Linked DNA regions of Homo sapiens: all the other regions are linked to region 1. Evidence: promoter capture Hi-C in 16 types of primary human blood cells and fetal thymus (Javierre and others, 2016). All regions are on one chromosome and are shown on one strand. The core of a region is centred on a gene start or on the middle of the fragment in contact, and the rest is flanking DNA. Distances in the headings are between cores, read along the strand shown.

The links. The method cuts DNA at HindIII sites, captures the fragments that hold promoters and counts their contacts. A CHiCAGO score of 5 or more calls a contact.
Region 2: a contact is called between a fragment that was not itself captured here and the fragment with the promoter of HEY2 in region 1, in 2 of 17 cell types (total B cells and naive B cells). The highest score is 8.8, in total B cells.
Region 3: a contact is called between a fragment that was not itself captured here and the fragment with the promoter of HEY2 in region 1, in 1 of 17 cell types (total B cells). The highest score is 7.1, in total B cells.
Region 4: a fragment that was not itself captured here is called in contact with the fragment with the promoter of HEY2 in region 1 in 1 of 17 cell types (total B cells); the score reaches 9.4 in total B cells.
Region 5: a fragment that was not itself captured here is called in contact with the fragment with the promoter of HEY2 in region 1 in 1 of 17 cell types (naive B cells); the score reaches 5.6 in naive B cells.
Region 6: a contact is called between a fragment that was not itself captured here and the fragment with the promoter of HEY2 in region 1, in 1 of 17 cell types (total B cells). The highest score is 5.0, in total B cells.

Annotation. Positions count from the first base shown.
Region 1 is chr6:125,747,597-125,751,414 of GRCh38, reverse strand. HEY2 (hes related family bHLH transcription factor with YRPW motif 2) reads right to left here and starts at 1,783. Exons shown (of 5, transcript NM_012259.3): 1 at 1,556-1,783. The coding sequence starts at 1,638. HEY2-AS1 (HEY2 antisense RNA 1) reads left to right here and starts at 1,990. Exons shown (of 5, transcript NR_183491.1): 1 at 1,990-2,456. RefSeq lists silencers at 1,565-2,274, 3,449-3,628. The HindIII fragment of the contact is 5,509 bases long and covers 317-3,818 here.
Region 2 is chr6:127,513,249-127,517,066 of GRCh38, reverse strand. It overlaps MTCL3 (MTCL family member 3), which reads left to right. Exons shown (of 7, transcript NM_001400265.1): 2 at 365-1,553; 3 at 2,020-2,244. The coding sequence starts at 453. It overlaps SOGA3-KIAA0408 (SOGA3-KIAA0408 readthrough), which reads left to right. Exons shown (of 13, transcript NR_174482.1): 2 at 365-1,553; 3 at 2,020-2,244. It overlaps LOC107986642 (a long non-coding RNA gene), which reads right to left. Exons shown (of 2, transcript XR_001744337.2): 2 at 1,767-2,780. Among named protein-coding and RNA genes, the nearest start is that of MTCL3, 4.2 kb to the left of the region's middle. RefSeq lists a silencer at 819-1,048 and an enhancer at 1,736-2,260. The HindIII fragment of the contact is 3,876 bases long and covers 271-3,818 here.
Region 3 is chr6:127,347,339-127,351,156 of GRCh38, reverse strand. No RefSeq gene overlaps it. Among named protein-coding and RNA genes, the nearest start is that of ECHDC1, 5.6 kb to the right of the region's middle. The HindIII fragment of the contact is 1,900 bases long and covers 771-2,670 here.
Region 4 is chr6:127,314,926-127,318,743 of GRCh38, reverse strand. ECHDC1 (ethylmalonyl-CoA decarboxylase 1) reads left to right here. Exons shown (of 6, transcript NM_001002030.2): 4 at 2,242-2,294. LOC105377994 (a long non-coding RNA gene) reads right to left here and starts at 1,759. Exons shown (of 4, transcript XR_001744334.2): 1 at 1-1,759. It also overlaps the pseudogene RNA5SP217. The HindIII fragment of the contact is 183 bases long and covers 1,680-1,862 here.
Region 5 is chr6:127,298,792-127,302,609 of GRCh38, reverse strand. The region is part of intron 5 of ECHDC1 (ethylmalonyl-CoA decarboxylase 1); the gene reads left to right. Among named protein-coding and RNA genes, the nearest start is that of RNF146, 34 kb to the right of the region's middle. The HindIII fragment of the contact is 1,869 bases long and covers 1,129-2,997 here.
Region 6 is chr6:127,120,776-127,124,593 of GRCh38, reverse strand. All of the region lies in intron 1 of RSPO3 (R-spondin 3), which reads right to left. LOC105377989 (a long non-coding RNA gene) reads left to right here. Exons shown (of 14, transcript XR_002956387.2): 4 at 2,858-3,818. Among named protein-coding and RNA genes, the nearest start is that of RSPO3, 4.0 kb to the right of the region's middle. The HindIII fragment of the contact is 1,841 bases long and covers 816-2,656 here.

The DNA of each region.
Region 1 (3,818 bases), core at 534-3,033:
AAAATAATGCCACTTTTTCAAATCAGGGTTATGTTAAGCACCACTATCAAACAGATGTGCAGTCGTCATACGTCAAACTCTTGTCTCTAGGTGCAAACTTTAAAATAAATAGAAGTTATCTTACTGTTTCAAAACTTCAGTTAGTCATATATTGCAACAGGAAAAAATTGACAAACTTGATGTTTTGCATACTAATCTTCCAAAAATATGCCCTAAATATGCCACTGATAGGAAAATTAAAACTCATTTTATTACTAGGTGAATGTTTTACTTTGAAAATGAAACTGTAGGTGTGTCTCAGACTTTAGGCTAAGCTTAAATCTCCAGAAGCTGCAATGCACCTTGGATTTACTAATGAAAATATATTTTTATATTGAAGGTTCAATCAAAGTATTATTTGGTCACATAATTTTTACAATCCTTTCTAGTTTGTATCTGTTTCTCTTCATAATTCATGGATACTATGCTTCTTTGTGTTCTCAAATTCCCCAGGTTCCTGTTATTTGTTCTCTTTCATTTTAGAAATGCTGCACACACCAGGTTGCTATTACCTCACCTTCTCACTTCTGGATCTTATTTCTGAATTACCTGTCCCCCTCATTTTCACCCCTTCTTTACGGGTTTCACCTTTCACGTGATAGCTTCTGTTTTTCAGACCTCATTTTTAAAGACGGCACAACAACACTTTAATGATCAGATACTTAAACCTTTGCTTTCGTGTAAATATCTTTGCTCTTGCAGATTTTGTGCTTTGCTTTGTATGTATTAGAATAACAATATGAAAGAAAACCAGTTTTCCAAAGGTAGGAAGAATTTCCCTCTTTGAGTGACAGCTGCAGATAAATAATTAAGGTGCTTCTGGGGATGCCAATTAGAAGCAATTATCATTTGACCCGCCTTGGCTCTAAAATGCCTCGGTAATCTCCCTCTGTCACAGGAAAGTGGAGGTCTGGCTTCTGTGATTACGACGCCGATCTCTTCCAGACTTGAGAACAAGCAGTCAAAGAAATGATGCCCTTTCCGATGCTTACATCTGTCACTCACTCTTGCGTTAGCCAAGTCACACACGGTCAACCTGCAAAGTTCAACCTACGTAGCCTTGACATCGCAGGTTGCTTTAATTCCTCCAAAAATCAAGTTGTGATTTTGGTATCTCTAAAAATCAAAAATCAAATTGTTTTTATTTTCTCCTGATCTATTTTGAAAGTGCCCCCAAATACGGTTTCAGTGGCTGGGACATCGCCTGTCGCCCAGACGCTGCCGTTCGCGCGTCCAACTGTGACAGCCAGGACCCTCCCTCGCCAACTCCTGCGCTCTGCCTTTCAGTGGCGTCTCCCATCCTGGCTACTCCACCCCTACGGTGAAAATCCACATCCCTTGCCCCATCCCAACTCACGCTCTGCGAGCGCCCACCACTCAAACTTTCTCAGGCCAAACTTTCCCTCTCTACCTAGATGCTGCGGAGACCAGCCTCGGGATTTCCAGGGAGCCACGCATTCACAAAGCTACCCCAAGCTCCCGAGCTGCGGGCCGCTCCCGCGGAGCCCGCGCTCACCCCGAGTAATTGTTCTCGCTCCCCACGTCGATGGTCTCGTCCATGTCGCTCTCGGAGGTCGTCTCCTCGCAGGGGCGCTTCATCCCGGCGAAGACCGCGCGGGGCACAGCCCGGCCGGAAGCTCGGACGCCGAGCGGGGCGCAGCACCCTGACGCCCGCCTCCTCCCTCCCCGGGCCTGGGCAGGCGCGGCTCCGGCGGCGGCGCGGTCTGCTCCTAGCGGCTCTTTCCCACGCCGCAACTCTGCTCGGCCGCAAGAGCCGGCGCCGGCCACGCCCCCCCCTCGAGCGGGTGGGGCCACCTCACCCGCCCCCGCGCACCGGCCCAGGCCTTCCGCCCGGCACCTCCCCCTCGCTGGTCGGCGTGGCTCGCGATTGGCTGGGCCAGGGGGCGGGGCCGCGCTCGCCAATGCCCGCCGCAAGGCTCCAGCCGAGGCGTGGGAACGCGGCCGCGGACCTGGTACCCCAGAGCAGCGAGCGGGTGGGGAGCAGCCGGGGCGAGAATGAGCGCAATCTTGCTAACCCCTGCGGAGGGAGCGCGCGGGCGCCAACGCGGGCGCGCGGGGGCGGGCCCTGGACCTGGACCTTGGGTTTCGGCCCTCCTCCGCGCCCCGCGGTCTCGCGGGCGAAGTTTCAGTCCTGAGTGTAAAGAATAACCCCAAGCGCGTGGCTAAGTGCGAGCAGGCGCGTGTGACGTCGGGAGGCGCCGCGGCTCCTCGGCCGCCCCACTCGGTGGTCCCCTGTCTGGATCCAAACTGCTGACTGGCTGACCCGAGTGGTCACATTTGCCCTCTGGGGCTTTTGAAAACCTTAAATCAAAATTGCTTTTGAATCTGACAACTCCTGAGGCTACTTTCGCGGCCTCGGGGCTGTTTCATATAAGGACGCGAGTTTTCCTGATCAGGTCTGTCGGCCACGTTACGATTTCCAATTTGCGATCCATCAGTTACTTCCATTGGGTCTTCAGCCCCCAGGGACTGTGGATCCTAGACCCCGCGGAGAAGCCCGTGGACTGGAGCTGTGTCAGCTCTGATGGTAGGAAAGACTAGATCAATGACGCGGGCATTTCAGGACATAATCGTATATTTTCAAGTTCGAGTTTTTCGGGCTTGGATTATCCAGATAATTGCCTCCAGTCTCCTCCAGTCCCCCTGGTGTATGCACTCGCAGCCGCAGAGTTAGAGTCCGGGAGGTGAAGATTGGCGCTTGGAAATTAGATTTGGTTTCTAAAGTATGAATTCGTGTCCAACAGTTCGTGCCTTGGACAACGTGGGTTGTATAAAACTCAAGCTGTGTGTTTAAAACAGGTTTTCTAGCTGCTGGTTCTCTCCAAGTTATGTAGGACTTTTGAACTGGCCACCCCGCTGTGCGTCTGCGAGGGCAGGGACTGAGCGAGACCCAGCCAGGGGCGCCGGGAGACTGGCGGCGGCTGGGTTGGGGTCCAGCCGGAAACCACACGTTGGCAGGGCCGCTTGGTCAGTAGTGGAGAGAGCCTCTGAGAAAGGGCCGTCTATCGATCCCCAGACCCCTCCGTCACGGAGGGATTCATAGCTTCCTGGGGATCGGCCCAGGGCGTCCCTTTGACACTCCGTTCTCTGTCCACACAAGCCCGGCGCGGGGCGGGGAGAAGAGGAAAGGACGCGACTGGGAAAGACGGGACCCTGGCGGGGTTTGGCCCGGGGGAGAGCGGGAAGGAGCCCGGTCGGCGCGGAGGACCTGCGGCCAGCGTGCTAAGCCCTTATTAGAACAGAAACCCCTTTCCCCCCACACTCTCATCTCTTTTGCGCGGTCCCCACCGCCATGCCTTCAATAACCTTGTGAATAGAAACCCGAATCGTTCCATCTTGGCTTCTGAAACTTAACCCCAGGCAAAGCACACACTCGGCGGGGCCAGGTGGGGCTGGATGGGGTCCGCGCCCGACGGCGGGGCCGCGGGGGTCGGTGAACCCCAGCTCCCCTGTCGGCCTCAGGGCGGATGGCTGGGTCGGCGCGGGGTTCGGGGCCTCCGATCGGCTGCACGAGGGCGGGCCAGGACCCAGACCCCGTCCCCGCTCCGGCCCCGCAATCCAGCGGGTGACGAGCCTGACGCGCGCCGGTCGCCTGCCACCTCCCGCCCCGAGCGCCCTGGGCCAGTACCTCCCGGCCGCAGGTGAACGCTCCGCGGCCCGCCAGGCTCAAGCTCGACCGTCACAACTTTCCGTGAGGGCTGCACGTTTTTCTGAATTCAAATGCCTGCAGGTGCAACTCATGTTTGCCACACGGGCAA
Region 2 (3,818 bases), core at 959-3,458, 1.8 Mb before region 1:
TATATGGATATCTTTTCTTTCTGAAGCTTCTTTTCCACTTTATCCTCTTTTCTTTTATATCTCCCTTTCCATCAATTCCTGTCTGACTCTGTATCTCACCCTTTCCAAAGCCTGCTACCATGAGAATGTAAGGTTCAGCTGCTTTCAGATCCGTCATTTTGCTGAGGTGGAGTGAGATGGAGACAGCGCCACCCTGGGCAAAATGAGAATTGACAGCCCTCCATCCTATTCCTAAAGACAGCCCTGCATCCTATTCCTAAAGTCAAAGCTTCTATTAAGCGCCATCCAAATGGAGCAATATCACCCTTTGCTCTGCAAAAATTCAGACATGTTGTCTTCTTCTCTCCTTTTGTTTCTGTCCCAGCTTAGGAAGGAAGGTTGGCGGCGGTGAAGAGGGAAGAGGATGATCTAGTAATGGGCTCTTCCAAATCGCATCTGGTAGGTTCATAGCCATGAGTCAGCCACCAATCGGGGGCGCTGCCCCTGCCACAGCAGCAGCTTCTCCCGCCGCTGCAGCCACTGAGGCTCGTCTGCACCCGGAGGGCAGCAGCAGAAAGCAGCAGCGAGCTCAGTCACCCGCTAGACCGAGGGACAGTTCGCTGCGACAGACAATCGCGGCCACCCGGTCCCCAGTGGGGGCCGGCACTAAACTCAATTCTGTTCGGCAGCAGCAGCTGCAGCAGCAGCAACAGCAGGGTAACAAGACCGGGAGCCGCACGGGGCCGCCCGCCAGCATCCGAGGAGGCGGAGGTGGGGCCGAGAAGGCGACGCCCCTGGCGCCCAAAGGGGCCGCTCCGGGAGCTGTCCAGCCTGTGGCTGGTGCTGAAGCGGCCCCCGCCGCGACCCTGGCCGCTTTGGGCGGCAGGAGGCCCGGACCGCCCGAGGAGCCGCCTCGGGAGCTAGAGTCCGTGCCCTCGAAACTCGGGGAACCCCCTCCGCTCGGAGAAGGGGGAGGAGGGGGCGGGGAAGGAGGAGGAGCCGGCGGCGGCTCCGGGGAAAGGGAGGGGGGCGCTCCGCAGCCGCCGCCGCCCAGGGGCTGGCGAGGGAAAGGCGTACGCGCTCAGCAGAGGGGCGGCAGCGGCGGGGAGGGGGCCTCCCCTTCTCCATCCTCCTCTTCTGCGGGCAAAACCCCAGGAACCGGCAGCAGAAACTCCGGAAGCGGCGTTGCGGGGGGCGGCAGCGGTGGTGGAGGGAGCTACTGGAAAGAAGGATGTCTGCAGTCTGAGCTCATCCAGTTCCATCTCAAGAAGGAGCGGGCGGCAGCGGCGGCGGCCGCGGCTCAGATGCACGCTAAGAACGGCGGCGGCAGCAGTAGCCGCAGCTCCCCGGTGTCTGGCCCCCCTGCCGTTTGCGAGACCCTGGCCGTCGCCTCCGCCTCCCCAATGGCGGCGGCGGCGGAGGGCCCCCAGCAGAGCGCAGAGGGCAGCGCGAGCGGCGGGGGCATGCAGGCGGCAGCGCCCCCTTCGTCGCAGCCGCACCCGCAGCAGCTCCAAGAGCAGGAAGAAATGCAAGAGGAGATGGAGAAGCTGCGAGAGGAAAACGAGACTCTCAAGGTGAGGAGGGTGGGGGGACCCGGCTGGGGGATGGGAAGAGTGGGCCTGGGAGGATTAGGGCGTGTACCGGCAGGGATCAGAGGCTGCTAACCTGTTAGGGAGCCTTGAAGAGGGAGGAGAACAAGAAAGGAGGGAGGGGGTTTCCTAGGCCTTGCCGGAATTTGAATCTGCTCTCAGTAACGCGAGGTTTTCATTTAAATTCAAATCTGGGCCTCCGTTTCTCTAATTATAATGGTTTGTCACACTTCTTCCTGGAGAGAGGTAGAGTAAGAGAACGAGAGAGGGCCTAAAGTGGGCCTTTTTCCCCCAGTTTCCTCTTCTGTACTCAGCTCCTTGTCACTCCTGTCTCGTGGAGAGAGAGGGCAATTAAAGCTGAGAATTTGGAATTGGAATGGGGTGTGTACGGTGTGTGTCGGAAGGGCTGGAAGCGAGTTTGATTTTGACACGCGGCCTGTCACCGCCTCAGAACGAGATCGATGAGCTGAGAACCGAGATGGACGAGATGAGGGACACTTTCTTCGAGGAGGATGCCTGTCAACTGCAGGAAATGCGCCACGAGTTGGAGAGAGCCAACAAAAACTGCCGGATCCTGCAGTACCGCCTCCGCAAAGCCGAGCGCAAAAGGCTCCGCTACGCCCAGACCGGGGAAATCGACGGGGAGCTGTTGCGCAGCCTGGAGCAGGACCTCAAGGTCTGCGGCGCGGGGGCTCAATGGCGCGCGGCAGGGGCGGTGGGTGGGGACTTTGGCCAAGGGCTCTTTAGGCTGAGAAGTCTTCAGTGGCGACTGGCAAGGAGCCTTAGGGACACAGTTTCGTAGCGCTAACCACAAAATACTAGGGTCTCAGAAGGGAGAGAACTGGCAGGTGGCTCTAAAGAGTGCAGAGTGTGTGGAGGGCCTGGCAGCAAACGAGCTAAGTGTGCTCTCCTGGGAGCAAAGGTGGCTCTTCAAGAGGTGATGAGAAGAAGGCTCCCTTCTGGGCAGAAGCAAGGGCGTGGCAGAGCGCAGGCTCTAGCCTTTGATCTGCCCTTCAGTCTGTCTACTGAGAGAAGTCCGGTGGAATCGGGCAGTCAGGAGCTGCACTAAAAGGACTCCTCTGGGGGAGTTGAAACCCAAAATAGGAACTGCACTGGGAAGATACTAGAGTTAAGATTTCTTTCAGCAAGTGTCCACTCCACTTCCTTCTTCCAGGACTTCTTCCTTTCTGCACTTGCCACTTAGGTGACTCCCTGAGGGGGAAAAAAAAAACAGATAACCAACTTGCAGCCTGTTTGGTGTGAGGTAAATGAAATAATCTCATTTTTTTAAAGTGCAATTGTTCCTTCAGAATTTCTTCCAGTGGAAAAATCTCAACCTTGAAGTGCATTTTCTAGACAGGTGTGGTCTCCAGTTCAGTTTGACTGTAGGCAGATTCATTGACTATGCAAACTAGACATTAACTTAATCTCCTTGCACAACCAAATAAGTATACGTTCATTGCATTAACTTCATTGGGATTTAAAGATCACGTGTAATCTTTGTTTTAAAGAAAGCTATGTGTAAACATTTTATGAAAGACGTATTACTTTTTTTCTTAACTTTTGTCGAGTGCTTAGTATGTACTAAGCACTGTGGCAAACACTGTTACATACATTATTATTTCATTTAATTCTCAAGGGAAAAAAAATCCTACAATGTAGGGATTATTAAGGCACCATTTTATAGGTGCAGAAGCTACACCTTTTACAGAGGTTAAGTGCCCAGGCCTGGAAAACAGCTAATAGGTGCCAGGCTGACTCTCCACTCAGTCCAAAATCACAACCTGTGTCCTAAGCCTCTACACCAGTCTGCTCCACTTTTCTTCCAAACCCTAGAATTTCCAGGATAATCTCAAAATATGAGGCAAAAATGCACAGTCATTCAAAAAATAATAATCTCAAGGACTAAAACTTTCCTAAGATTAAGCAACTGGAATTCAAGCTATAAGATTGAAATTCAAGCCCAACCCACTACTTGTAAAAACTTCAATTTTTCATTCTTTAACATAGATTATAATGGAAACATCTACCTCATAGTTTTGCTGAAGTAAAGGAAATTTGTGAAATTTCTCTACATGTGATAAAATGCAATAGAACATTTTTTACCACAGAGTAGTGCAGAAGTTAAGGGAACAAAATTTAGAGCCAGATTGCCAGGCCTCTTAGCCCAGCAGTGTCTACTCATTAGCTGTGTGACCTTGACCTCTCTGAGACTCAGTTTCCTCATCTACAAAATAGAAGTAATAATAG
Region 3 (3,818 bases), core at 471-2,970, 1.6 Mb before region 1:
TTTTATATGGTAGACTGCTTTTCTTTTTCTTCATATTTTGTGTATCTATTACAGTTTTTTACTTTGGAGTTATCATGAGACTTACACGAAAGATCATAGTTATAAGTCTATTTTAAGCTCGAACAATTTAACTTTTTCTGCATACAAAAGTATACACTTTAACTTCTCCTACATCTTATGCTATTGGTGTCACAATTTACAACTTTTATATATTGTGTTTCCATGAACAAATTATTATAATTACTTTTCTTTTAATTTTACACTAGAGTTAAAAGTGACTTATGCATCACTGTTATAGAATTAGAGTATTCTGAATTTAACTATGTTCTTACTTTTACACTGAGTTTTATACTTTCCTGTGTTTTCATATTGTTTTTTAGGGCCCTTTCAACCTGAAGAACACCCTTTAGCATTTCATGTAAGGCAGGTCTATGGGTAAGAATACCTTTTGTTATGTCTGGGAAACTCCCTATTTGTCCTTCATTTCTGAAGGACAGCCTTGCCAGGTATAGTAGTCCTCATTGGCAGTTTATTTCTTTCAGCACCTTGCAGGCCATTCTCTCTTGGCCTGCGAGGTCTCTGCTGAGAAATCTGTTAATAGCCTTATAGAAGTTGCTCTTCTCTTGCAGCTTTTGCATTTCTTTGTCTTTGACTTTAGAAAATTTAATTTCAGTGTGTCTTGGTGAAGATCTCTTTGTATTTAATCTATTTAGGATTTTTTGGCTTTCATGGGTCTGGATGTTTAGTTCCCTCTTCAGATTTGGAAAGCTTTCTGTCATTATGTTTTTCTGCCCCTTTCCCTTTCTCTGCCCCTTCTGGAGCTTCCATAGTGCATTAATTAGTTCACTTGATGGTGACCCTTAAGTCTTACAGATATTCTTTACTCTTTTTTATTCTTTTTCTTTTCTTTTTTCTCCTCTTACTGGGCAATTTTAAATGACCTATTTTTAGGTTAACGGATACTTTCTTCTGCTTGATTTTGTTGTTGGAGCTCTCTGTGGAATTTTTCAGTTCAGTCATTGTGTTTTTTAGCTTCGGAATTTTCCTAGTTCTTTTTATGGTTTCTATCTCTTTGTCAAATTTCTAATTTTGTCTGTTTACTGTTTTCCTAATATTATTTAGCTGCCTATTTGAGCTCTCTTGTAGGTCACTGAGCTTTTCTTTTCTTCTTTTTTTCTTTTTTTTCTGAGAATCTCACTCTGTTGCCCAGGCTGGAGTGCAGTGGTGCAATCTCAGCTCACTGCAACCTCTGCCTTCCAGGTTCAAGTGATTCTCCTGCCTCAGCCTCCCAGGTAGCTGGGACTACAGGCATGTGCCACCATGCCTGGCTAATTTTTTGTTGTTGTTGTTTGTATTTTTAGTAGAAACAGGGTTTCACTGTGTTAGCCAGGCTGGTGTTGATCTCCTGACCTTGTGATACACCTGCCTCGGCCTCCCAAAGTGCTGGGATTACAGATGTGAGCCACCACGCCCGGCAGTCACTGAGCTTTTCTAAGAATTATTTCAAATTCTTTTTCAGGATATTCATAGATCTTCATTTCTTTAGGGTTGTTTACTGGTGTTTGGTCCTTTGGTAGTATCATGTTTCCCTGATTATTCCTCTTCCTTGCATTATTGAAATGCGGGCACTCATTCCAGTCTTTATAGACTGGATTCAGCAGGGAATGCTGCTCACATCACCCTATCAAGACTTTGGGTAGGTCATCTGTGGGCTTTATGGGTGGCCTTGCTGCTGGTGCCCTCAGATAGACAGGGCTGGTGACCAGATAGGTAGGTGGGTGTGCTAGGCATCTAGGTCCACAGGGTCTGGCTTGGAGCCTGTGTTCACAGGACAGGGGCCTGCCTAGTACTGAGATGGGCCTGGTGCCTGGGTCCATGGGGACAAAAGTGGAACATCAGTCTAGCAGTCTAGTCTGGTGCTGGGGAAGACCTAAAGCCTGATTCTTCAGAGGCCATCATGGAGGCTGGGTTTGTGGGTGGTAGCTTGTAGGCTAGGCCCTCTGGGGTAGTTCTGGTGCCAGGGTCTACTGGGGTAGACCTGGACCTTGGGTTTGTTGGAGCAGGCCTGGAACCTGGGTTCACTGGAACCTGGGGCTGTAGGGACCAGCAGTCAGTGGACCTAAAGCCTATATCCACTGGTGCCAACCTGGAGACTGGGGCTGTAGGGCCCAACCTGGTGTTGGAGCCTGGTGCCTGAAACTATGGGGACTAACATGGGGAATGGAGTGGGCATAGATCTAGGCGCCATGGAGATTAGCCTAGCATTGGGGTGATCTTGTAGTCTCAGTGCATGGGTATCAGCCTAGAGTCTAGGGCCATGGTAGTCAGCCTGGTGCCAAGTTTCACTGTGGCAGGCCTGGTGCTGGAGTCTGCAGCAAAGCTGGCACTTACCTCACTCTCCTTTCCTCACACGGACCATAAGTCTCAGCTCTGTGCTACCCAGGCTTGGGAAAGGATTGACTCTTTCCTACTATCTTCAATGTGTCTTTTCTTAATTCTCTGCTACATCTAGGTGCTATAATTTCTCATCTGGATTCCTCAGTTCATGTGAAGGTGTCTTCATAAAAGGATAGTGGTTCAGGCCGGGCGTGGTGGCTCACGCTTGTAATCCCAGCACTTTGGGAGGCTGAGGCACGTGGATCACCTGAGGCCAGGAGTTCAAGACAAGCTTGGCCAACATGACAAAACCCCGTTTCTACTAAAAGTACAAAAATTGGCCGGCGTGGTAGCGTGTGCCTGTGATTCCAGCTACTCAAGAGGCTGAGGCAGAGTTGCTTGAACCCAGGAGGCGGAGGTTGCAGTGAGCCAAGATTGCGCCATTGCACTCCAGCCTGGGCAACAAGAGCAAGACTCTGTCTCAAAAAAAAAAAAGGATAGTGGTTCAAATAGATGTTTCTGTGAAGGGACAAGTACTGGGAAGTGCTATACTGCCATCTTTCTGACATCACCCTTCTTCCATTCTAGATAGCCTTTTTGAAAGTAATACTATAGTTTCAACATTTTACCATGTTATTAAGTGTTCTCATTCATTTTGAGAAATCTGAAAACCAAGTATATTTAACTAACAAAACAAACACTACATTCCCCCAAGTTACTACTGATAACTATTAACAGCATGAGATATTCATTCTAGTATTTTTTTCTATGGCATTTTTTAAGAAAAAAATTTAACTACATTCTCAAAAGAAATAAAGAGAGGAAAGAACCGAGGAGGAAAAAAAGAAAGGATGGGAAGGAGGAAAAATAAGGCTAACAAGGCATTTGAACTCAATAAGCTTACATTAATAAAAATTATCATGATAGAATATAATGCAACAATAAATGATATACATTGTGGTATAACATTTTGATATTTCTTTCTCATACCTAGAACTATAACCAATTCAGTCTAAAGCACGTGTTGTTTCAGGGGAAAGATAGCTGTGATTGGGTTACAAATGTTTTCATAAAACTCATACCAGGGACAAGTGAAGAAAATCATAATATCTGAGTCTGGTTTATCTTCTTCCCATCCCCGCTTTTTAGAGTAAAAAGGTATTTTGTGCTTCAGAGAGAAAACCCCTTAAAAACTTATTGCATTGAGTCTAGGCCACAAACAACAGATTGAAAATAGAATACATGATACTCAAAGCTGAAATATATAAAAAAAAAAAAGTAAAATCACATCACACGGTAGTGTTGAAACATTCAAGTGTGTAAATACATGTCGACATCCTTTGTTCAGAATGAGGAAATACTTGAAGTGTAAAAACTTATTACTAATCATTGTTTCTCAATTTTGACTTAAGGGCTATTTGTTCAGAATAAAATATATGGAA
Region 4 (3,818 bases), core at 522-3,021, 1.6 Mb before region 1:
CACTATGTGCAAAACATTTTACTAGCGTCTGAGGAGGGGGAAGGCATACTGTCACCATCAAGGGACTTACTGTCTAGACCTAGCAAATGCCACCTTCCCTTCTCCTCTCTAAAGCCTGTCTAACTACCCCCATCCCAATTGAAATGAATAATTTCTTCTTTGACACTCTTCTGAGTTTGTTCAAGCACTTTGTATAATACCTGTACTTTGATAGTTGTATTTCTGTATCTCTGGCAAAATTATTGAGAACTTCTTAGGTTCTCTAGTCCCCATCTTGTAGAGATGATGTGTCTGATAATGCATCTAAACACATATTCATACAACACAATTTATAAGTACTATAATTAAGGCATAAAAATAAAAATACTGTTGAAACACAAAAGAGAAAATTGTTATTGTGAGATTTAGAAAATCTTGATGGAAAAATATTATATGATCTGGGCATTCCTTGAAATAGGTAGAGAGAAGGACAGCCTATTACAACTAGTAGGAATGATAAAAGCAAAGACACAGGAGCCACAATAAGTGTAAGGTGTTAGAGGGATGGCAAATAGTTTGTGTGGTGAAATTAGGATGCTTGGAGGAGGGGTATGGTAATCAATAAAGTTGATAAGATAGTTTGGGATCAAGTGGCCTTGCCAAGAAATTTAGGTTTTATTCTATAAGACATCATCATCCTACAGGAAGGTTTATCAGGTAGCAGGATGGAAGATTATATTTAAGAGGAAAAAGAAATTAAATACAGAAATCAGTTAGGAAGCAAAGCTGTTGTCTCCAGCCATACCACCCTGAATGCACCCAATCTTGCCGATCTCAGAAGTTAATCAGTGTTGGGTCTGATTAGTCCTTGGGTGGGAGAAAGCAAAGCCATCTTACTGTACTAATCAAGGCTTGAGTAACACAGGTATGAACTAATGCAGCAGCAGCAAAAATATAAAAGAAGGGATTGATATTTGAAATATTTCTAAGGTAGATCCGAGGGGAAGTACTTGGTAACTAACTGAGTGTGGGAGAATTGTGAAACGGGAAAGTCAAACATAGTACCAAAAATCTGAGCCTTATTGACCGCTAGCTCAGAACTCTTACACTAACTTTTTCCACTAACACAGAACACTTATGCAATCTTTTATAGAGTTTCTAGGTATATTTTCATCTTTCTAAACATCCTTTAAGTCAAATAGTGCAATTTTTTTTAATTTCTCATTTCTTATGAATGAGGAAACTGAATTACGTAGTCATGACTTGCTCAATTTCATGTTGTTATTAAGTGGCAGCACTAGGATTCAAAGTCAGTTCTTTTACTTTCAGTTGGTTTTGCCGTGCTGAGTTTGAGGTGCTATCAGAATGTGAAAATGTCTAGTAGATTTTAGCACTTTATATGGAAGTAGATGAGACTTCCAAAAAAAAGAAATTATAAATAAAGAACAGAGAAAATCATGGATTAGAATTTTGAAACTGCATGGATTTAGGGGATTAGCTGGATAAGAAGAGCCAAGGAAGAAGACTGGAAAAGAACAAACAAAGAAATAAGAGAACCAGGTGTGTAAATGTTGCTAGAAAGTGAGAGCAAATATGAGAATGAAGAAACTGATTAAAGAAAGATACTACGTGTTATGGAGAGAGAAAAGGTGAATAAGGAAAAGTCATTTAATTTGACAAGTAGGAGATTATTAAAAGCTTTTGAGGAGAGATTTTGGGATAAGGCAGAGGGCCAGATTACACTGGATTGAAGAAAGTATGTGAGCTAAAAAAAAGACAAGGCAATGAGTTTGGACTACTCTTAGGAAATTTGTTTGTGAAAATTATAAGTTGTGGCAATACCAAGATAAAGCCTTAGAAATATTTTTTTAAAAATCAAAGCTTAACATAACTTTTCCCTTCTTTCCCTTCTTCTCTTATATGTTTATCATCTTAAGGATAACAGATGGGTATATCTTATGCCTTTCCCCTGTCATTACCCTGAGTAGAACTCCATAGTGATCTAGGGTATGTGATCTGTCTCTTATCCCTACATCTTTGCTAATACCTCATGCAAAGCTGAGCTCAAGGAGCCCTAGGATATCAACAGTCAAATACAGCATTATTTGCATTTCAGACAACATCAAAGAGTTTTAAATGGAAATGTCATTGTTTAAAAAAGACATATTTTTGGCTTCATTACTTTCTAAAACCTTAATTTAAAAAATTTAATGTAATATATTTGCATTATACCTTTGTGTTTCTGCTTATTTTTATTTAAAGGATGGAATGGCCGTATGCATGTTCATGCAAAACACCTTAACAAGATTTATGAGGTAATGCAGCCTTCTTTTTAAAATATGATTTCTAAAAGACCAAAAATAGCTTTTTGCTATTCCATTATTTGTACTAGTTAAGAAATAATAGCTAATTTTCAAATTACATCTATTCTAATGATGTACTATTTTTTTGTGCCGTAGAGGATAATCATTTAATTACATGTTAATGAAGTATATACATATGTATTTTAAAAATAAGAGAAATGAAAGATAAGAAAAATTTAAGACATATCCCCTAAAGAGCTTATATAACTAGCTGTATTTAGGAATAGATACTGGGAAAGTTAAATACTGGTATTAGAGCAGAATAATAAAGACACTGATCAAGACATGACACATAAAGTTTACCTAATATTCCAAATTAGTAGAATGTGTGGTGAAGTGGTCTGTATCCAGAGGAGATGAGAAAAAGAACTATGGATTGGAAAGTTTTTACAGCTTTCTGAGGAATATGAATTGACTTTGCACCTAGGTAAAGAAGCAAAGAGGAAAAATTCTTCTTGGCCTATCAAGGTATGTTTGAGGTTACAAACTGACATGTTTTGGTTGATTAGCTTTCTACTTTCACATTCCGAATGTAGACAAATTTAAAATTATGAAAAGTAAGGAAATTCTTATTTAAGCAAGGTTATTAATTGGACATTACTGTATTTTTGGTACCTATTGTATCTGAGAGTCTAGAGAGAGTAATAGAATCATAACATTACTATTCTAAAATAGTATCTTCATTGTTTAAACCCTATTCACCTCCTTTTCCTATTGCATTTGACTTTTTCATAGATAAATCTGAAGTTATTATTTTTTTAAATAATCCTTTCTACATGGGAGCAGTGTATATTAGGAAATTTTCAATTACTTTAGACCTGCACCTTTGCATTGTAGGTCAGAACCTACAAAAATTCCATCTTGGAAAACATTTTAGATTTACCTTGTATTCACACACCCCTGCAAAGTGGGTCTTTGCAAACAGGAAAGGTAAAAGATTTATTTTTACTGCAAAATCATGCCTTTATATAGGATTAGTCTGTGGATTATTTCAGGCAACAATGAGTAGATTTTTGAAGGAAACTTCATAACACAGTTTTGGAGCCCTATCTTCTGTAACACATTTCCAACCTTTGGAAATAGCCTTGATTTTCCAACTTTTAACCTGATACCAACAAAAATGGACAAAGATAATATCACATGGAATTATTCTGAAGAGCCAGCTGCTGAGAAGTTCCAGGAGCTGTAAATTAGACAAAAGCATCCATTTATTTGGGAGTAAGTTACAATATGGCTATAGCTTAAAAATATATAATGATTCAGGGAGGTATTTTAATGAACTTATGTGGCATTTATTGTGAACTATTGTATGTTTAGTATTACACTGTTTTTCTTCTCATGATGTAAAGGTTCAAGCTTCTGCTATCCTTTGATGTGTGTTTGTTTTTATGAAGACAGTGCAATAATTTTGTTTCCACTGCATTTTAAGATTTTTTAAAAAATAACATTTGTAAATGAATATTGAAATTAAAAATA
Region 5 (3,818 bases), core at 814-3,313, 1.6 Mb before region 1:
TGGCCAACTTGGTGAAAACCCGTCTCTACTAAAAATACAAAAATTAGCCGGGCATGGTGGCAGGCGCCTGTAATTCCAGCTACTCAGGAGACTGAGGCAGGAGAATCACTTGAACCCGGGAGGCAGAGGTTGCAGTGAGCTGAGATGGCGGCACTGCACTCCAACCTGGGCAACAAGAGCGAGACTCTGTCTCAAAAAGAAAAAAAAAAAGAATCTTAAGCTACATGCAAGTGTGCATTATTACACTGAAAAATCCTCTGTGTAAAAGGAAATGAAAATTAAGACTTTTTAGATGTTATTTGGAACAAGTGAAAACCCTCTAACATAGATTCCGGTGTTCACCTTTATTAGACTTTTGTACTATTCTTCATATTGATTTCTCATCTATGTTTAAGTGTAGTTAGGGTTTAGGACAAAAAAGCACAATAGCAGGAAAAATAATCAGAGATTATTTAATCCTTTAATACTGCTAAATTGCCTAGCTGTCATTCTCTAATTGAAGAAAATGTAATGCATCCTAGAGCTTCATTAAATATTTAATTTTATTTGTTACAAGATGTCTGAGGGTACTGCCTACTCTCAGTATCTGGATATACCAGGTGCTTTTGTTGAGAAGCTTCTGATGAAAACCTATCCATTTTTGAACCAGCTTTTCTGAAAGTGGTGTCTGTTTATTAAACATATTTCAGCACCCACATGTGCTAGGCACAGCCATTCACAAACCTTGTGTCTTGGTTTTTTGTTTCATTTTTCTAGTAATATGTTTTTGTTATATTTTACAAAATTATTGGTCTGCAATCGATTAGAAAGTTTCTTTAAAAATGAAGAAGAAATTGATCCTTGACCAGAGAAATTTGACAAGCACTGTCCTAGGCTACTCAGCCCTTTTAAAACCCGCATACCAAAAGCAACTATAGTTCTTAAATGTTAGAGGCTAATAGAGAGGATTGCATACTGAATGAACTACATTACTAGCCCCAGTTTCCAGGAAGTGATAAATCAGTACAAGTTCCTCTAGCTGATTTTTTCCACTTAATTTTATCAGTACCTCATCAGTTACTTTCTATGACAGATTATTTTAATTATTTCCTAAGAATGTCTGCTTGTTCTAAAAAAACACCGAAAGCTTTCATAGCGTTTGCTAAAAAGATAAGTTCCTTCTTTATATGTGTTGGCCCTTTTCGCTTGTTTAACTTTCTTACCTTGGAGAATTGCCTGGAATTCACTCAACTGACATTTTCATCCATGCCAATGGAAGTACTTCAGCAGATGGAGATACACTTAATATGAATATATAAAAGAAATGAACTCATGTAGCATTCTAACACTGTCCCCTTCCCGCAAAACCCTGTGAGCACCAGCTGGTAATAGATGTAATGTATACGTATGTCGGAAACACTCAGTTCTACTTTGCATAGATAGACCCTCACTTGAGTCATACTTTTCATGTAAAATATTCCAAGAGAAAATGGCTTTTAAAAAACATTTTTAAAAGTAAAAGACTAACATGAATTAAAAATTGGTATTTTTCAATGGTCAGAATCTAGTCAAGCATTATGTTTCCATTTTAGTGACAAAATTAATGTGAGGAAATGAAAAGCTAGAAATGTGGTAATATAGCCTCTCATTTTTTAATCCACCTTGACAAATTAAAGATATTTAGAATGAAATATAAATTAAGAAAATGCTAATACATGTAGTTTTCTATTGCTGCTATAACAAACTACCACAAATTCTGTGGCTTAAAACAACACGTTATTATCTCACAGATGTATAGGTCTGAAGTCTAGCTGGGCTCAGCTGGTTTTTCTAAACCTTGTCTCATGAGACCAAAATCTAAGTGTCAGTTGCAGTGGGCTCTGAAGACTCTAGGGGAGGATTCATTCCCAGGCTCACCCAGGTTCCAACTGGTAGAATTTGGTTACATGCACTTGAAGGACTGAAGTCCCTGTTTCCTTGCTGCCAGATGGGGGATGAGTCTTTGCTCCTAGATGCTTTCTGAATTCTTTCTCATGCTTTCCATGTGGCTCCTCCAGCAGTGGTGAGTCAAGTTCCTCTCATACTTTGAATCTCTCTTATTTATCCTTATGCTGCATTTCTCTGACTACAGCTGGAAACATTTCTCTGCTTTTAAGTGTTCTCATGATTAGATTGGGTCCACTCAGTTAATCCAGGATAATTTTCCTATTTTAAGGATTTAACTTTAGTTACATCTGCAGTCTCTTTTGCCATGTATGGTAACACATGCACAGTTGCCAGAGATTAGGTCATCTCTTCGGGGCCAATCTACCTACCACGTATGGGCTTGGCATAGGGAATTTAATTGTCAGATTTGTTGCTAACTTTTATATTTCTGTTTGATTGCCAGTGAAAAGTGCTAACTTTGTTACTCTAAGTTAATTTTGTAAACTGTATTTTTATTTTTTTAAATGCTTGCTTAGATGCTTTTTAGAAAACAGTAATAGTACCCACATACAGTCATGTATTGCTTAATGATAGGAACACATTATGACAAATGTGTCATTACGTGATTTTGTTGTTGTGCAGACATCATAGTATGTAGCTAAACAAACCTAATGATACCATCTAGGGTGCAGCTTACTACATACCTCGGCTATATGGTATAGCTTATTGCTCCTAGGCTACAAACCTGTAAAGCCTGTTACTGTATTGAATACTATAGGCAGTTGTAACACAATGGTAAGTATTTGTGTATCTAAATGAAAAGGTACAGTAAAAATACTGTATAAAAGATAAAAAATTGAATGCTCATATAGGGTATTTATGGTGAATCGAGCTTGCAGGACTGAAAGTCTCTCTGGGTAAGTGAGTGAGTGAGTGGCAAGTGAATGTGAAGGCCTAGGACATTACTGTACACTTAGAATGTACTCCTTTTACTTTTACACATAAAAAATTAAATGTAAACAGCCTCAGGCAGGTCCTTCAGAAGAAATTCCAGAAGACAGTATTAACTGTAACTTTTGTACTATATAAGCTTTTTAATTTTAAAAAACTTTTTTATTCTTTTGTAATAGCACTTCATGTAAAACACAAACACATTTTACAGCTGAACGAAAGTATTTTCTTTTTTTATATCCTTATTCTATAAGCTTTTTCTATTTTTATTTTATTCATCTTTTTTAAAAGTTTTTTTTTTTTTTTATTAAAAGCTAAGACAAACACACACATTAGCCTAGGCCTACATAGAGTCAGGATCATCCATATCATTGTCCTACCCCTCCACATATATCATTGTCCTACCCCTCCACATCTTACCCCACTGGAACATCTTCAGGGGCAGTAACATGCATGGAGCTGTGATCTCCTATGATAATAATGCTGTCTTCTGGAATTCCTCCTGAAGGACCTGCCTGAGGCTATTTTACATTTAATTTTCTACATATAAAAGTAAAATAACACTCTAAAATAACATAAAAAGTATAGGTCAGCTGTGGTGGCTTATGCCTGCAATCCCAGCATTTTGGAAGGCCAAGGCAGGAGGATTGCTTGAGCTCAGGAGTTGGAGACCAGCCTGGGCAACATAGTGAGACACAAAAAATAAAAAAAATAGCCAGGCATGGTGGCACACGCCTGTAGTCCCATTCCTGAGGGAGGATGAGGCAGGAGGATCGCTTGAGGCCAGGAGGTCAAGGCTGCATTGAGCCATTATGGCACCACTGCACTCCAGCCTGCGGGACAGAGTGAGACCCTTTCTCAAAAAAAAAAAAAATATAGTACAGTAAATACCCGAACCATTAACATGGTCATTTATTATTATCAAGTATTATGTAACATACATAATTGTATGTGCTATACTT
Region 6 (3,818 bases), core at 487-2,986, 1.4 Mb before region 1:
CTTAAAATCAAAGGCCAAGCAAAAAAAAAAACTGTGCAATTTATGATGCAACATTTTTTCAAATTATTATTTTCAAAAAAAAAATGCCAGCACATAATGCACTGTTAGAAGAAATAGTCCTAACCAAGTCAAACATAATTTCAACACACTGTCTTGCATGATCCTTACTGTGCTCTTAAAACTGAATGATGTTTTCCTAATGGTAACCAAAGTTTTTTCTTACATTTCATGAAACACAATATCCACTCTGATGGCATTTCAAGAATTCACTACTTGGAAAATAATTTTTTTGGGGTGGGGATGGGATATGTGAGTGAATAGTGAAGAAGTAGGAAGAGAGAGATCAAGATATGTCCAAAATGAAACATTGGGATGGAGACAAAGGGGAAAAGACAATTTGGCAAATCAGTATATCTAGAATAGTTTTATTTTTTCATAGCTCATTCTTATAATTGCAGAGGTGTATTTTGGTCTTAACTCTACATAGGGCTCTGAAAACTCTACATAGTACTCTGCCAACATTGCATAGGATTCAAAAGAATTATTACAACTAAAAAAAGATTAACCATTGAACTAGAAAATATTTTAGACATTTAGTAGCAATCTGGAGATCTCTGTCCAGATTCAAATAATCTAAAATAATCAGATGTCTAATAAATTCATTTTGGAGCAATGCAGCAAGGGTTTCCCCATAATAACTGGAAAATAAAATTTTACTACACGTTGTAATTTCCATTCATTGCTTTCTGGGGACCTAATTTGTACAATATTAAATGCCAGGGAATTATTTAATGGAGAAATGACTTAGTAAAGCTTATCTATTTGCAAGTTCAAATACTCTTCATATTTCATGTTTAAAGGAATATTGAAATAACAACATTAAATCAGTTTCATACTCATTCTTACATTCTCATTACTTGAGTAACTTGGGGCTAAAAAGAAGGTATTTTAAAATTACCATTTCTAACGTTCTTGTTAAAATCCTTCTATTAAAGTAATAAACGGAATTAAAATAGTGTCACCATGGGATATTTTGAGAAACAACCCTGATAATGTAATGATGATTAAATTTGAGTTCACAAAGATGTTTTTCCTTGCATTTAGATGTTGCCACTACCGCATATGAATTTGCATTTGTCTTGATTTATACAGCTGTTACACGACGTATCAAAGAATACACTTTCTTCAGCAAATTCTATTCGTGTCTGTATCTTTAAAACACTGTTACTCTCAAAAATAAGGCAGACTGGTGAGAAACGTAGACAAGTGTGAAAAATACATTGTAGTCAATATCCAAACCAAACTTTCATTTGAAATTAATATTACAAAATGTATAGTAGAATTAAAGATTTTTCTATTTTATCAGTTAACTTGTTATTTTCCAGGATTCACAACATAATCACAAAGGGTGTGTCATAATTTCAAAGACTGGCTCAACATCTGAAACAATGTCATGAGCAATGACCAGTACATTCCAATAGTCTGTTTTTATTTTATTACCATGAAAATTATTTCCTTTTTATTCTTTCTCTCTTTCTTCAGACGTCTTTATGAAAGACTTGCGAAGTTTTATAGATTGTGCAATGAGTGCTTTTAAATTATTATGCATATAATGGCTTTTCAAAACTTGCATTTATCTAGAGTCTGAACAATTAAAACCGAGCTACTAGATGGCATCAAATAAAAAGGATGCTAAATGCCATCTGATGTTTCTAACAATAACCTTCTGGCACAGAATAATCCCATAGTATCTCCTAGATAATCAAATGATATATTCCGTTTAGAAAACTTTACTATTAGGTATTTAATTCTTTGACATTGATCACCATTATATAAAATAATGAGTTCAAAAATTTCCAGTCAAGGAGAACAGTTTATTCTCTAAACCTATTGAATAAATGATGGCCTTGAGACCATCTAATTTATTACTTAATAAACCTGATATCTTCTCTATGACCAGAATATAGAATAAAGGTGTACATAACTGTGAGATTCATGGCAGGAGACAAGTTCCACTTGCTAGATATATGGCATTATGTAGGTTACTGAGCCTCTAGTTCTCAGGCCTTTTCTTTCTAAGATGGGAAGATAAGTACCTGCTTCTTCACTTCAGTGGCTATTTCAGGGCCCAAGCAACTAATCCACGTGAAAATGTGAGGCCCCACTAAGATTCTGTGGCTATCATTATGGCAAAAAAAAAGTGCTTCTTAATGTTATTAGCACACAATCTGGAATTCAAAGGTTGAGTCATTTTTAAGAGCTGTATACCAATTCAAATAGATAAAAATTTATTGTGTATTTATTCACCCATAACTAAATAGACATTTTAAAGTACAAGGGTCTTGTCTTAAAACATTGTTTCTTTTATGAGAAGAAACACTAGTTTGTAATAACTAGGATCACTAGTTTATATCAAAGTAGAGACAAATGGAATTACAGTTGTTTTAGGGAAACAGGAGAATACTGATATGGCTTTATTTGCTATTTCTGAGGATAATGCATGATTCTTTGGACATGACAATATTTAACACTTCAAATGAATGTTCTTGTTTACAAAAAAGTTTCCTACTAAATCAAGAGAGACCATTAAATTTTTTGTAGAAGTTTTTAACACCTAATTTTCTACCTGTCATATCTTTATTGATGATTTTAAGCTTAGGAAATTGAAACTATATAACTACAGGCCAGAAGACTCCTTAAATATTCACTTAATTGTCTCTTGAAGAAACAATTAGGATAGCCAGCCTCTTTTGAAAACACGTTTGACCACATGTTTTCATTTTAAAAACTTTTCCTAGTCCTTACTTGAGAAACAGGAACTGTGAATTGAATCTTTTTGTTCGTTTTTTTCCCCCAGAGATTTCAAAACAAACGGTATATCTGAGTTTGTGCACATGCAGTTTGACCTTGAGTTTCTGGGCATTTAAAGAGGACCTCTCTACCCTCCACTCCTTCCTCCTTAAGTCATACTGCACCTGCCAAGAGTCTAGTCTGTCTCCTCCGAGGACGCAAGGGGTCGCCCCTCTACCAGGATTGCACCAGCAAACCAAGCCGCAAACGCAGACTCAAGTGCGAAGGAGCAAGAGCATCGCTGTGGGTGCTGTCTCCCAGTCCCACTCCCACAGAAAAATTGGAATTGCAACCCAGTTCCACTATTCCTTCTTTCATCCCCTCAACACAAACAGAGGTCTCCTTTGACTTGGCCTTGAGATGATTAAGGCAGGTCGAAAAGCAGTTTGCCTTTTGACTCCTCTCGGCCCAACCTAGAGGTGCATCATCCCACAGCTCCCTGAGGCAGCGCCCGGGGAAAGCTTCCTGCGCCGTGGTCCTCGCTGGGGGAGGTGGGCACAAAAGGACTACAAGCTTTCTTTCCTGTGTCTTCCTTCAGAATCAGGGGCCCCAAAACTGCAAAGCGAGACGCCTCTGACACTCAGTACCCTGTCCCTCCTTGACAAGTGTGTGGCTCCCAGCCCGGGGGTCCTCGGTGGGGGTAAAGGAGAGAGCGTGCTCTGGGACGCCCAATGGGCACGGGCTGGAAGAGCGGATGGAAAGCAGAGTGGGTTGCGCTCCAGCCCGGGCTCCCTATGCCCACTGACCCTGAGACTCAATTCCCCAGGCCAGACCCTGGGAGGAGAGGAGGCGGGGACCGCCAGGCGCGTGGACACCGCTGAACCCCAGGCCTCCCCTTCCGCGTCCGGGCCGGAATGAAAGAGTGGGTGGGGAGTTACCAGAGTACACACCATTCGGAGGCCAAGAATAATAAATCGGATGCCCTGACATATTTAGTTTGGGCTCTCCTGCCCCCTGCTAGGTGATCC